3 separate regions of the Homo sapiens genome follow, and all the other regions are linked to region 1. The links are contacts of gene promoters, found by promoter capture Hi-C in blood cells and fetal thymus (Javierre and others, 2016). All regions are on one chromosome and are shown on one strand. Each heading gives the region's core, a stretch centred on a gene start or on the middle of the fragment in contact. The rest is flanking DNA. Distances are from core to core; before and after follow the strand shown. Region 1 holds the start of TBC1D15 (TBC1 domain family member 15). Region 2 holds the start of TMBIM4 (transmembrane BAX inhibitor motif containing 4). Region 3 overlaps LEMD3 (LEM domain containing 3).

Region 1 (3,774 bases), core at 862-3,361:
GTGGACACAGGGACTAGAGTTTAGGAAAGAGAGACTTGGGCTGGGAATATTTGGGAGTCATCAGTACATAGGAGATTTTGATGCCAGAATATGAGGATAACGGCCCAGGAATAGTGTTTGGAGAAAAAGGAAGAGAGGCCCAAGGCCAGCCCATGGGTAGCGCCATTATTTAAGGCACACTTGTAGGATGAAATTTAAGAAGGTCAAGAAGTAGCAGATGAACCTGAGATGCCAATGATGCTTTTCAATGAGAAGCCTGTAGTTCTCAAACTTATATTTTAAAATATAAGTAATAACTACATTTATTGAGCCTTTTATTCCTGGCACTGTGCTAAGGGCTTCAAATTTTCTCTAAAACACAGGGTGTAAGAAATGTGATGTCACATTAAAATTTTTCTCTAACCACATCCCAATGCTCTGAGCTGGTGGAAAATGTAATTTGGGTCATCAGTAGGATTTTCCACTCCACACCCAAGATTATATGAAGGTTCTAGGGGTCTTAGTCTCAGTCCAGTACATTTGGAAAAGGCCCTCTAGTCTTCACTCAATGCTGATTACTGCTAATATTCTCATTTTCCCACCTCATTCATCCCTTGTAGGTGAGCTGCTTTCTTGATTCCCTGCCAAGCTTGGGCATAAGGGTCTTGGTCATGGTTGGAATCTCAGATACCTAGCACGCAATCTCCCTAATATGCTACGCATTCATTCCCACCTAAGGTTCCACCACTTTCCTCACCTATTAGGTTCCTGGTAGTCACATAACCGGCAACTCTCCTTTTCTGTCGTTCAGCTAGTTGCCACCTACCTCAACCAAACTCAAAAGCCTCTAACCCCTCTCCACTGTGTGAAGACGGAAGTACCTCAATGGACACAAGTGTTTTTGGTGAAAGGGACTTTTTATTCTGCCCCGGAGCTAGGGAAATCCCAGATCTGTGCCAGAGTTATCAAGGGGGTAGTATATAATCATTCTCTGCATTCTTTTACAGCACTGAGAACAAGTAAAATTCTTACCTTAGTATCTTTACAAATCATTTTACCACACATGTATTGTCGTATGAAATCCCTACAACCACTCCATGCAGGAGTAATTCCCAGTTTACATCCTGAAGCTCTGATAAATTTAGAAACCTGCTTTAAGTCACAGAGCTAATAAGTAATGTGTAGGTGCTATAAACTATGTGCCTTGGGCTCTGCAGCTATGAGGGCGTGGTATTATCACAGTTCCTATCGAAATACCTTGCTGGAGGTCATGTGTGAGTGGCAGTGACCAGACAAATAGAGAAACCTCATATACAGAGGGGAAAAGTCTCCATGTATAGTGCCTGGGATATCTCCATGTTAGTGCTGCTCTTTCTTGGATCTTCACCGCAACGCCACTATCTTGATTTTACTATAAGAAACTGAGGTTTCGAGTGCACTGGTGATTTGCCTACTGCCACAAAACCAGGCTAATGGGCTGGGCGCGGTGGCTCAAGCCTGTAATCCCAGCTCTCTGGGCAAAGGCTGAAGCGGACGGATCACCTGAAGTCAGGAGTTCGAGACCAGCCTGGGCAACATTGGCGAAATCTCGTCTCTAATAAAAATTTAAAAATTAGCTGGGCGTTTGACGCGCGCCTGTAATCCCAGCTACCCGGGAGGCTGAGGCTTGAGAATCGCTTGAACCGAGTGGCGGAGGCTGCAATGAGCCGAGATCGCGCCACTGCACTCCAGCCTGAGCGACAGAGCGAGACTCCTTTTCTACAACAACAACAAAAAACCAGGACAAATCTTGCTGGCTTCCAGTATGGTATTCGTTTCATCTCACCAAACTGGCGTGGCCTGCGCTAGCTTCAGAGTCTCGACAAACTCCAATACAAGTAAGGTACACATTATTTTAGCAGTCTTCCTTGGGGAGGACGTGGGGCAAGCACAAGCGTAGCGTTAGGCCTGAGACTCCACCCCAGCCGTCTCTGAGCCCAGTTCAGCACGCACGCGTCAGGCGGCTTTTTTCCGCCCGGCTCCTTTCCTCCACTCCCTTCCCGCCACTCCCCGCCCTTTTCCCGCCCGGATGTTATTCTAGTTTTGCCGGATGTTGTTGTATGTCCGAGAGACACGTGAGGTTCTGCTACGTCATTACCAGGCACGCGCAGGAAACATGGCGGCGGCGGGTGTTGTGAGCGGGAAGGTAGGTAACGGCCTCCAGGAAGACCTCGGCTTTTCTCTGGGACGGGGATGCTTTTGCTCCCTGGCAGCTGGTTGGGGGAGGGACACGAGGGACTTTCTGTGTCCGGACAACCCGTGGCGTCTGTAGGAGAAGACTGGGTGGTACCAGCTGGTTTCCCGAGAATGCCAGTTCAGCCGCGGAGTTATAGAGCCGGCTACTGCTCCAAGGCCAGCTAGGCCTCGGCGCTCTTCTGCCCCAGAGCAGAGAGGCTTTTATTCGTATTACCTTTACTAAGGGACAGGTGGCTCTCTAGTTCCTTTTTTCCCCCGATTCACTGTTTCTTGACTCTAGTTCTTTATGTCTACTCTTCTGACTCCAGCGTCTTTTCTCTCTTTGAAGCGTTAACCCGACTTGCCTCTGTCTTCTTTGCTACAGTTTGGTGAAGATGTTTATGCTTCCTTCGGGAGGAGCTGAATAGATGCTAGGCAGCTAGCTGTGCGCTTAGAAGAAACGAGTGTATTGGGTCTGTTTTTACCAAGCTGCTGAGTTGGTTGGTGGTTGTGAGCAGCAGGACGTGTTTCCTGAGAGAAATGGAGATTTACACCATCCTGTGCTTGTCTAGGAAGGCGTCCAAATATTTATTTCCTAGGCATTTCAGTAGGAGTATTGGTCATGCTGGTTTACGGAGGTGGTCAGTGACACGCCTAATTTCGTTGGAAACTAGAATTACGTGCGGAGATTTCGTCGAATAGTGCCTATTCGCGTTCCGAGGGCACATCTTATGCATAGTTAGGGCTATCAGCTTTATGATATGCCACCGATAGTATTTCCCAGTGCAGGAGTATTTCATAAACAGCTGGAATCAACTGAAGTGACTCATCGAACACTAATGGTTGTTTACTCATTGCAGATAGCGTCCTCTGTTCCTTGAGTTTCACTCATGTCTCCCTGTTGCTTTCCCTACCCCATTTTGAATTATTTGACAGCGTTTGTGGTTTGGTGTTTGGAGTATTAGACTAGGCGGCTGAATGACAAATATGGGCTTGGTTTTGCTGTTAATCTGAAGTATGACCTTGGAAAATTGGGCAATTGTGACTTTTGTCTTTTCGCGTTCTTTATCTGTAGAATGGAGGAGATGCCAATCATTATTTCTTGTATTGGAGTTGTTAGGGTTATATAAATTTTTTTTTAAAAAAACATAAAATTACACACTTGTACCTACTGGCTCTTTTAAAGGATAGGTGGGCATCCTTTTTTGGATTATTCGTGCTCCTTGGTTGTCTTGTCAGTTTTTTTCTTTTTATATTCAGGGTGGATGCTGATATACTGCTTGACTTACTGCGTATTTGAAGATTATCCTGTTTGATTTTCCATCTAAACTGATCCAGGCTGGGACTTTTCAAGAGGGGATCCCTTCCGTTTAAACATCTCCCTCTTTCAGGTTTGGATTGATTTTGAAAGAATCCTTGAGGCAATGAAGCAGAGTTGTGAAATGAAAAACATTTTTCACTCTTTGCAGCCACTACCTTTCATAGTCTGACTTCTTAAAGTGAGACTTATATTTAGTAATTCTGCTTCATAACCTCATTTATTCTCATTCACTGCAAATTCACATCTATTGCCATCACTCC
Region 2 (3,479 bases), core at 102-2,601, 5.7 Mb before region 1:
AATCAACTCTTTCTGTACCTCACTTCTATTTTCTGTACCTCACTTTACTTTCTCTCTCCATAAATTTTCTCCCACCAAGCGGCAGGACTCATCACTCTGAACCTTATTCTGGTTCCGGGACCTGCCCAATTCGCAAATCATTCTGTGCTCAAACTCCGTTAGATTTAATGTGTCTAAAGTTTTTCTTTTAACAGTGCACAACCATGTGAATAACTTAACACTACTGAACTATACACTTAAAAATAGTTAAGACGGTAAATTTTATGTTACCTGTATTTTACCACAATTAATTTTTTTTAAAAAAAAGCTGAGTTCACTGGCCAAAATAATTTCAAAATTCAATTCCAAAAATATAAATGCTAGGCACCAAGATTCTTGGTGCATCAGAACTATCTTCATCTTTCCTTTTCCAGAACAAGTTCTAGGCACTAAGATTCTTAGCACATCAGAACTATCTTCATCTTTCCTTTTCCAGAACAAGTTCCAGCTGCCTAAACAGGCTGAAAGTCTGGGGCTGTTTCGGCGATCAAATGACCAAACTAGAGCAGGCAATGGCTTCCACGTAGATGAAGCTGAGCATTTTAAATTCAAAAATTTCTGCCCATTGGCTACTACGTAATAACTTAAAACACAATTTAGACTGACTTAGGAAGCTTCTGTGTTGAGCAACTTCCTCAATAATCCTCAAAGACCTGTTGCATTCTGGGCCCTGCGGAGAGGAAATAGTGCCGTCAGGGAGCTTCCAGCCTAGCACAGGACGGTAAATATAAGCCTGTAACGCGAAACCCCACAGAACAAAAACATCAGGCCGTGGATTCCACTCGTGTGTACGTCAGTCACAGTGATCAACCGACTCATTTCCACGACGTTTCTTTTCACTTCAAGATGCCAAATTCAGGCTGCGGCGGTTTCCATCTGTCCCTTCCTACACCGCGGCGCCCGCTGGGGAGCCGGGGCGCACACAGGACAGCCGCAAGCCTTCTGGGCCTGGCGCCCTCCCACACCCGCTAGGAGGGGAGGAAGCGCCTCCCCGACTCCCTGAGGAGGGCGCCAGTCCTCTGGTACCCGGAGAAGGAGGGCCGGGAGCTCAGTGAGCACTCCCTGTGAGTCCCAGGAGATGGCCGCTCTCCCTCGGAAGCCGGAAGTCGGCTTCTAGAGGCCGAGCAGTGCAGACAAGCGGCTGGGAGGCACTGGAGAGGGGACAACGTACCCATTCGGATGTGCACGGTGGCGGAGGCCACGCTGCTGCCATAGTTGAAGTCGTCCTCGATCGAGGAGCGAGGGTACCGGGGGTCGGGGTCAGCCATGATGGCAACAGCACCCCTACCGGTCCCGGTCCACTAACCGCAACCGCCTCCTCCCCACTTCCGCGAGGAAGAGCCCAGCCCCAGCAAGCCGTGCGGCGTCGGCGGGCGAACACCGAGCGAGTCGATTTTCTCGCTTCAAAAATTCCAGCTGGGCGGAGAAAGCGGGGATGGCTCCGAGTTAGAATGGAAGAGAAAACGGTTTACATTCCCGGCGTCATCTGAAGTGAAACTTTTCTCAACACACTTTTTTTTTTTTTTTTGAGATGGAGTTTCACTCTTGTTGCCCAGGCTGGAGTGCAATGGCACGATCTCGGCTCACCGCAACCTCCGCCTCCCGGGTTCAAGCGGTTCTCCTGCCTCAGCCTCCCGAATAGCTGAGATTACAGGCGCCTGCCACCACGCCAGGCTAATTTTTTTATATTTTTAGCAGAGACGAGGTTTCACCATGTTAGCCAGGATGGTCTCGATCTGCTGACCTCGTGATCCGCCCGCCTCGGCCTCCCAAAGTGCTGAGATTACAGGCGTGAGCCACCGCGCCCAGCCTGAACACACTTTAAGTCCTTTCACCTTGGAGAGTTGCTAAAGTGATAGAACCCATGTCCCAGTCACCCATCCACTCAACAAATACCCATCTCATTCATCCACTTTTTCAATAATCACACCGAGGATGCATTTTTACTTCTATTATTTTAAAATAATAATAATACCTACATTTATTGAGCACTTTCTATAAACCAGGCTTTCTGAATGAAGTAATATTTAATCCTGAAAGGCAAGTAGGAGCCAACCAGAGAAAGAGCAGTGATGTAGGCTGGGCCTCAAGGGACCAACGTCTGCAAAGAGGGAGACGGTGAAGCTCAGCTGGTGTAGGGGACAGGTGGCAAAGAATGAGGCTGGATAGATAAACAAAGGCCAGATCATCCTAGGCCAGAAGTAGAATACATTGAAGAGGGCCATTACCAAAGGCAGAGAAAAGGGGATAAAGTTGTATTACTGTAAGAGAGAGATGATGGTGGCAAATACAATGGATTAGAGTGAATATTCATGATATTGTTGTCATTCCAATATAAAGAGGTGTAGACATACCCAGAGTAGTGTCATCCTAGGGTCCCTTGGAATTGTTTTGATGAGTTTACTCTGATCTACCCACATTGCCCAGTCCTCACCTTAACCACAACACCCGAACACTTAGCAAGTGGAATTCAGAACAGTTGTGGAACAGTCTATTCTAAACTAAATCCTTAAACTTGATGTTCTCAGAAGCCTTTGCCAAAAGAACTAACGTCACTTCCACAATGACAAGAAAAACAAAACAAAACAAAAAAACACTTTATCTTTTATGATTTTACAAACATTTTACAAGCATATCATTTTAATTTGTTTTTGTTGGTTTGTTTTGAGATAGAGTCTCAGTCTGTCACCCAGGCTGGAGTGCGGTGGCTCTATCTCGGCTCACAGCAGCCTTGACCTCCTGAGGTCAGGTGACCACCCCCGGGTAATTTTTTGTATTTTTTGTAGTGACGGAATTTCGCCATGTTGCCCATGCTGGTCTCGAACTTGGGCTCAAGTGATCCCCCTACCTCGACCTCCCAAAGTGCTGAGATCACAGGCGTTAGCCACTGTGTCCGGCCCCTCGTTTTAGTTTAGTTTGTTGAATGGATAGGTGAATGGGATATGGCCTCTATCTCTTTAGTCACTCTCCAGGTGAGAGGACTTAAAAAGCTTGCTGAGAAAAATCTGAGAAAAGTTTTACTTCAGATGACACTGGGAATGTAATCCGTTTTCTCTCCCATCCTAACCCGAAGCCATCCCCTCTTTCTCTGCCCCGCCGTAATAATGGAATTTATTATAGAGGACAAACTGGAGCTAAATTGGGAACCCACCTTTGTATTGACTAAAAACAGCATCAGCAAAGTTTGATCCTTTACCTCTTACCAGTTACAAAAAAAAATAAATTCCAGATAGATTGTGGATATAAATGTGAAAGGCAAAAACAATAAAACTTAAAGAAAATGATACAGGAGAATATGATTTGGAGGAAGGCAAAGATTTCTGAAACCAGATACAAAATAGCACTTAACTTCAAATGAAAAGATTGCCAAATTAAATTATATTAAAATTAGGAATTTCTAGTAATCAAAATATACCATAAGAGAGTGAAAAGGAAGCCAT
Region 3 (3,816 bases), core at 80-2,579, 6.7 Mb before region 1:
CTCCCTTTCCCGGCATCGGCCCAGACGAACCCATAGTAAGCCTCTCCCCCCGCTGACTGCTAAATCGGCCGGCGGCAGGCTGGAGACTTCAGTTCAGGGAGGGGGAGGACTCGCGATGAATGACAGGGCGGCGGCTGCCGGGAGTCTAGACAGGAGCCGAAACCTCGAAGAGGCGGCGGCCGCGGAGCAGGGAGGAGGGTGTGATCAAGTGGACTCCAGCCCCGTTCCTAGATACCGTGTTAACGCTAAGAAACTGACCCCTCTCCTGCCCCCGCCACTTACTGACATGGACTCAACCTTGGATTCGTCAACAGGCTCCCTTCTGAAAACCAATAATCATATTGGCGGTGGGGCCTTCAGTGTGGACTCCCCCAGGATTTATTCTAACAGTCTCCCTCCCAGTGCGGCGGTGGCCGCCTCTAGTTCACTCAGGATCAATCACGCCAATCATACGGGCTCCAATCATACCTACCTGAAAAACACATACAACAAACCGAAGCTTTCCGAACCCGAAGAGGAACTTCTCCAGCAATTTAAACGGGAGGAGGTGTCCCCAACAGGGAGTTTCAGTGCCCACTACTTGTCGATGTTTCTCTTAACTGCTGCCTGCTTATTTTTCCTAATACTGGGACTGACTTACCTAGGAATGAGAGGGACAGGAGTATCTGAGGATGGAGAACTCAGCAGTAAGTATTAAATCCTGTGGGTAAGGTAACAAAGAGAATGTTGTTAGTGGTCCGCTTTAGCCGCGCTTAGCGTTTTACATGAAGTGACTTACCTGCAAGAATATGGTTTAACAGCAAAAACGCAACAGTGCGTGCATGTGTCATCTTTCTTAAAGAACACCATTATCGAAATGATGTCATATGGCTGGTTTTAAAAGTTTTCTGCATGATGTATTGTGAAATTCAAAACAATTTTTAAAAGAATATTATAAGCTTGTTAGTAAAACTCATTTGTATATGTGACAATTCTCTTTTAGCCCTGAAAGACTATTTGCGCAGATGCCAGTTACTTAACAAATTTGAAGTATTAGGATAAGGCACATTATAAATGTAGTGTTTTTCCAAATTGAGTTGTGATTCTAATAGGCAATGTAATAGCTCTTGAAATTCGAATTATTTTATAATATTAACTGTATGCATAAATTCGGATTAAATATTTTGTGGTATTAACTGTATGTATAATTTCTTTATAGTGAATGAATATAAAAAAGCAGCAAGGCACACCTCTTAATTTATTTCCCAGCCCAAAGCACTTTCCCTATCATCTGTACAAAAAGTAGTGGTAGGGCAGTGCAGGAGCTTGCAGTCAGATTTCCTTGGATTGGTTTCCAGGTCCTACTATTTACTTGCTAAATGACTGTAGGCAGGTGTGTTCATTGTCATAATCAAAGTATCTCTGCCCTTAAACACAAAAAGAAGATGAATACAGACCATTTTGTGTTCTCTGAAGGAAATAAAGATGAGTAATTGGCGTACACAACTTTATTTTTTTTCCTTTTTTAAAAAAATTTACCAGACTACACTGACGTAGGTGTACACTACTTTAGATTGAACGGAGGAGGTACTATTTGAGGTGAGACCTGAAGCAGAAGGAGACAGCCTTGTGGAGAAACAGTAGACCATTCTGAGCAGAGATTAAGGCCTTGAGTTGAGCAAGAGCCTTCTTGTAGGTTAGAGTGGTTAAGCACCTTGAGCAAAGGGGAGAGAGTCAGAGTTAAAGCTTCTGAACTTTCCTAATCTATAAGATGAGGCCTCTATTGACTAGAATGTTTGTGAAGATTAAAAGAGAAAGTAAATTAGGACAAAATGGACTTCTGAATACATAATTTCTCAGTGTTAGGTCCCTCTCTGCATTCTCCCTGAAGGCTTCCTACTCTTTTCACCCAAGATGAATTCACTGTATTTTTATTTGTATTTATAAAATTGGCTTATTAGTTTTATTTCAAAATAGAGTGAAAGATGCAGTTAGCCAACTCAGATAAAGAGTAGGAGTCAAAATAATGTAAGCTTAGATTTAGATATAGCCAATTCCGAGACAGTCAAATAATAGATTTTTACTCTGTTGCTTAATTACAGGGGTTGAAACAAGAATGAAATTCAGCTCTCACTTTAGTTTATTCCCTGGGAGCATGAGTGTATTGTGTCCTGCCCCAAATATTTGGGAGAAAAAAAATAAGGGCACACTAGAAGTTAAACAAGTAAAAGTTCACATAAATTAAATGACATTACCTATCAGCAGTAGCTATCTGCATCTGTGTCTCTAACAACTATAAGATCTGGCCTTTTTCTTTTCTTTTTTTTTTTTTTTAGACAGAGTCTAGCTCTGTCGCTAGGCTGGAGTGCAGTGGCACAATCTCTGGTCACTGCAACCTCCGCCTCCTGGGTTCAAGTGATTCTCCTGCCTCAGCCTCCCAAGTAGCTGGGACTACATGCGCGTGCCGCCACACCTGGCTAAATTTTTTTTGTATTTTTAGTAGAGACAGGGTTTCACCATGTTAGCAGATCTGGCCATTTTCTAAGAGCTAATTGCTTTACACCTATTGTACCATCTAATCTTCCCAGCAACTCACAGAAGCAGGTGGTGGTATCCTCATTTTTGGATGAGGATGATACTAAGTTAAGAAATGCACTGAGTGTTGAACAGTTAGTAGTAGGGCTAAGATTTGGTTTCAGATTTTATTTCCAACTAGAAAGACCATTTTAACACTGTTTTGGTTATTGTTTGTAGAGAGCTTTCTAAATAAGTGGGTACCTTTATTATGATTAAGAAAGTAATTGACTATTTGGTAGGATTTCATACAGAATTATTGATAAGCACAATTCTCAGTTAAGGTGACTTTCACATCTTTCTCATCAGTGTTAAGATGAATGACTAATGTGGTGTACTAAAAGTTCAGGTAGAATAGGATAGGAATGCTAGGATTTTGGTACTCTTCACCTTCACTGATAAGGAAGGAAGGAAATTATATTTACATTTTAGTAAATGGTAAATGTGAAGTAATCTGGGCGTTGGAAAGAACAATGGCTAAGAAGTAGAGGATCTAGGTTCTAGGACTTGTCTGAATGACTGTGGTCAAGCTCCTTAATCTCTGAGCCTCATTTTTATATACTAAATGGAAGTAATAATATCTGCTGTCTCTGGGTTTGTTTGTGAGGGTCAGGTGAGACAGTGTGTTAAACATAAGGTGGTATTATTCAGAAATTTGGACAAAATTTGTTGTATTCCTGGTAAACTACAGTATATCTAGAGAGATAAATAGTTAAGACATTTCTATAAATGACATAGTATAGTGCATTTCTTAACCTAACATTTGATTTTTATCCCATTAAATATACATTATAGAAATTAATACAGAAATTTGAATCAAAGTATAATGAATCCTTAAATGTATGATACACTTGATGTATTGTATGTCTACCCTGTGGAAAGAAGTGCCTGCTAACTTCAGTTAGTCTGCACACCTAACAGTGTTAGGGTATCAAGAGTGAATAATATTTTCACTCCATATATATATACACACACATACATACACGTATTCCATATCCTTTGTTATATTATGATGCTTTAACTGTAGAGTTCATTGGTCAAATAGTATGCTTAGGGAAATACGTTTACTTTGAGTAATAGTTTTCACCAGAAGATTGTAGGTTATATGTGAGAGTAACTTTTAGGAGGCTTTTATTATTTAAATTACATATAACATATAGTAGATTAGTCTTTTAAATTGTTCTTAATCATATAGTCTTTGAAACTTTTTCATCAATGCCCTATTTTTTTATTAATTAAATTGCTATAAGTCTCTTCTTCCTC

What was found. The method cuts DNA at HindIII sites, captures the fragments that hold promoters and counts their contacts. A CHiCAGO score of 5 or more calls a contact.
Region 2: the fragment with the promoter of TMBIM4 here is called in contact with the fragment with the promoter of TBC1D15 in region 1 in 3 of 17 cell types (total CD4 T cells, naive CD8 T cells and naive CD4 T cells); the score reaches 11.8 in total CD4 T cells.
Region 3: a contact is called between a fragment that was not itself captured here and the fragment with the promoter of TBC1D15 in region 1, in 2 of 17 cell types (naive CD8 T cells and total CD4 T cells). The highest score is 7.0, in naive CD8 T cells.

Annotation. Positions count from the first base shown.
Region 1 is chr12:71,837,648-71,841,421 of GRCh38, forward strand. TBC1D15 (TBC1 domain family member 15) reads left to right here and starts at 2,112. Exons shown (of 17, transcript NM_001146213.3): 1 at 2,112-2,164. The coding sequence starts at 2,135. The HindIII fragment of the contact is 6,842 bases long and covers 627-3,774 here.
Region 2 is chr12:66,168,645-66,172,123 of GRCh38, forward strand. It overlaps TMBIM4 (transmembrane BAX inhibitor motif containing 4), which reads right to left and starts at 1,352. Exons shown (of 7, transcript NM_016056.4): 1 at 1,211-1,352. The coding sequence starts at 1,307. RefSeq lists enhancers at 504-603, 1,086-1,610, 1,254-1,333. The HindIII fragment of the contact is 2,376 bases long and covers 652-3,027 here.
Region 3 is chr12:65,170,433-65,174,248 of GRCh38, forward strand. It overlaps LEMD3 (LEM domain containing 3), which reads left to right. Exons shown (of 13, transcript NM_014319.5): 1 at 1-686. Among named protein-coding and RNA genes, the nearest start is that of LEMD3, 2.8 kb to the left of the region's middle. RefSeq lists a silencer at 32-235 and an enhancer at 229-308. The HindIII fragment of the contact is 787 bases long and covers 937-1,723 here.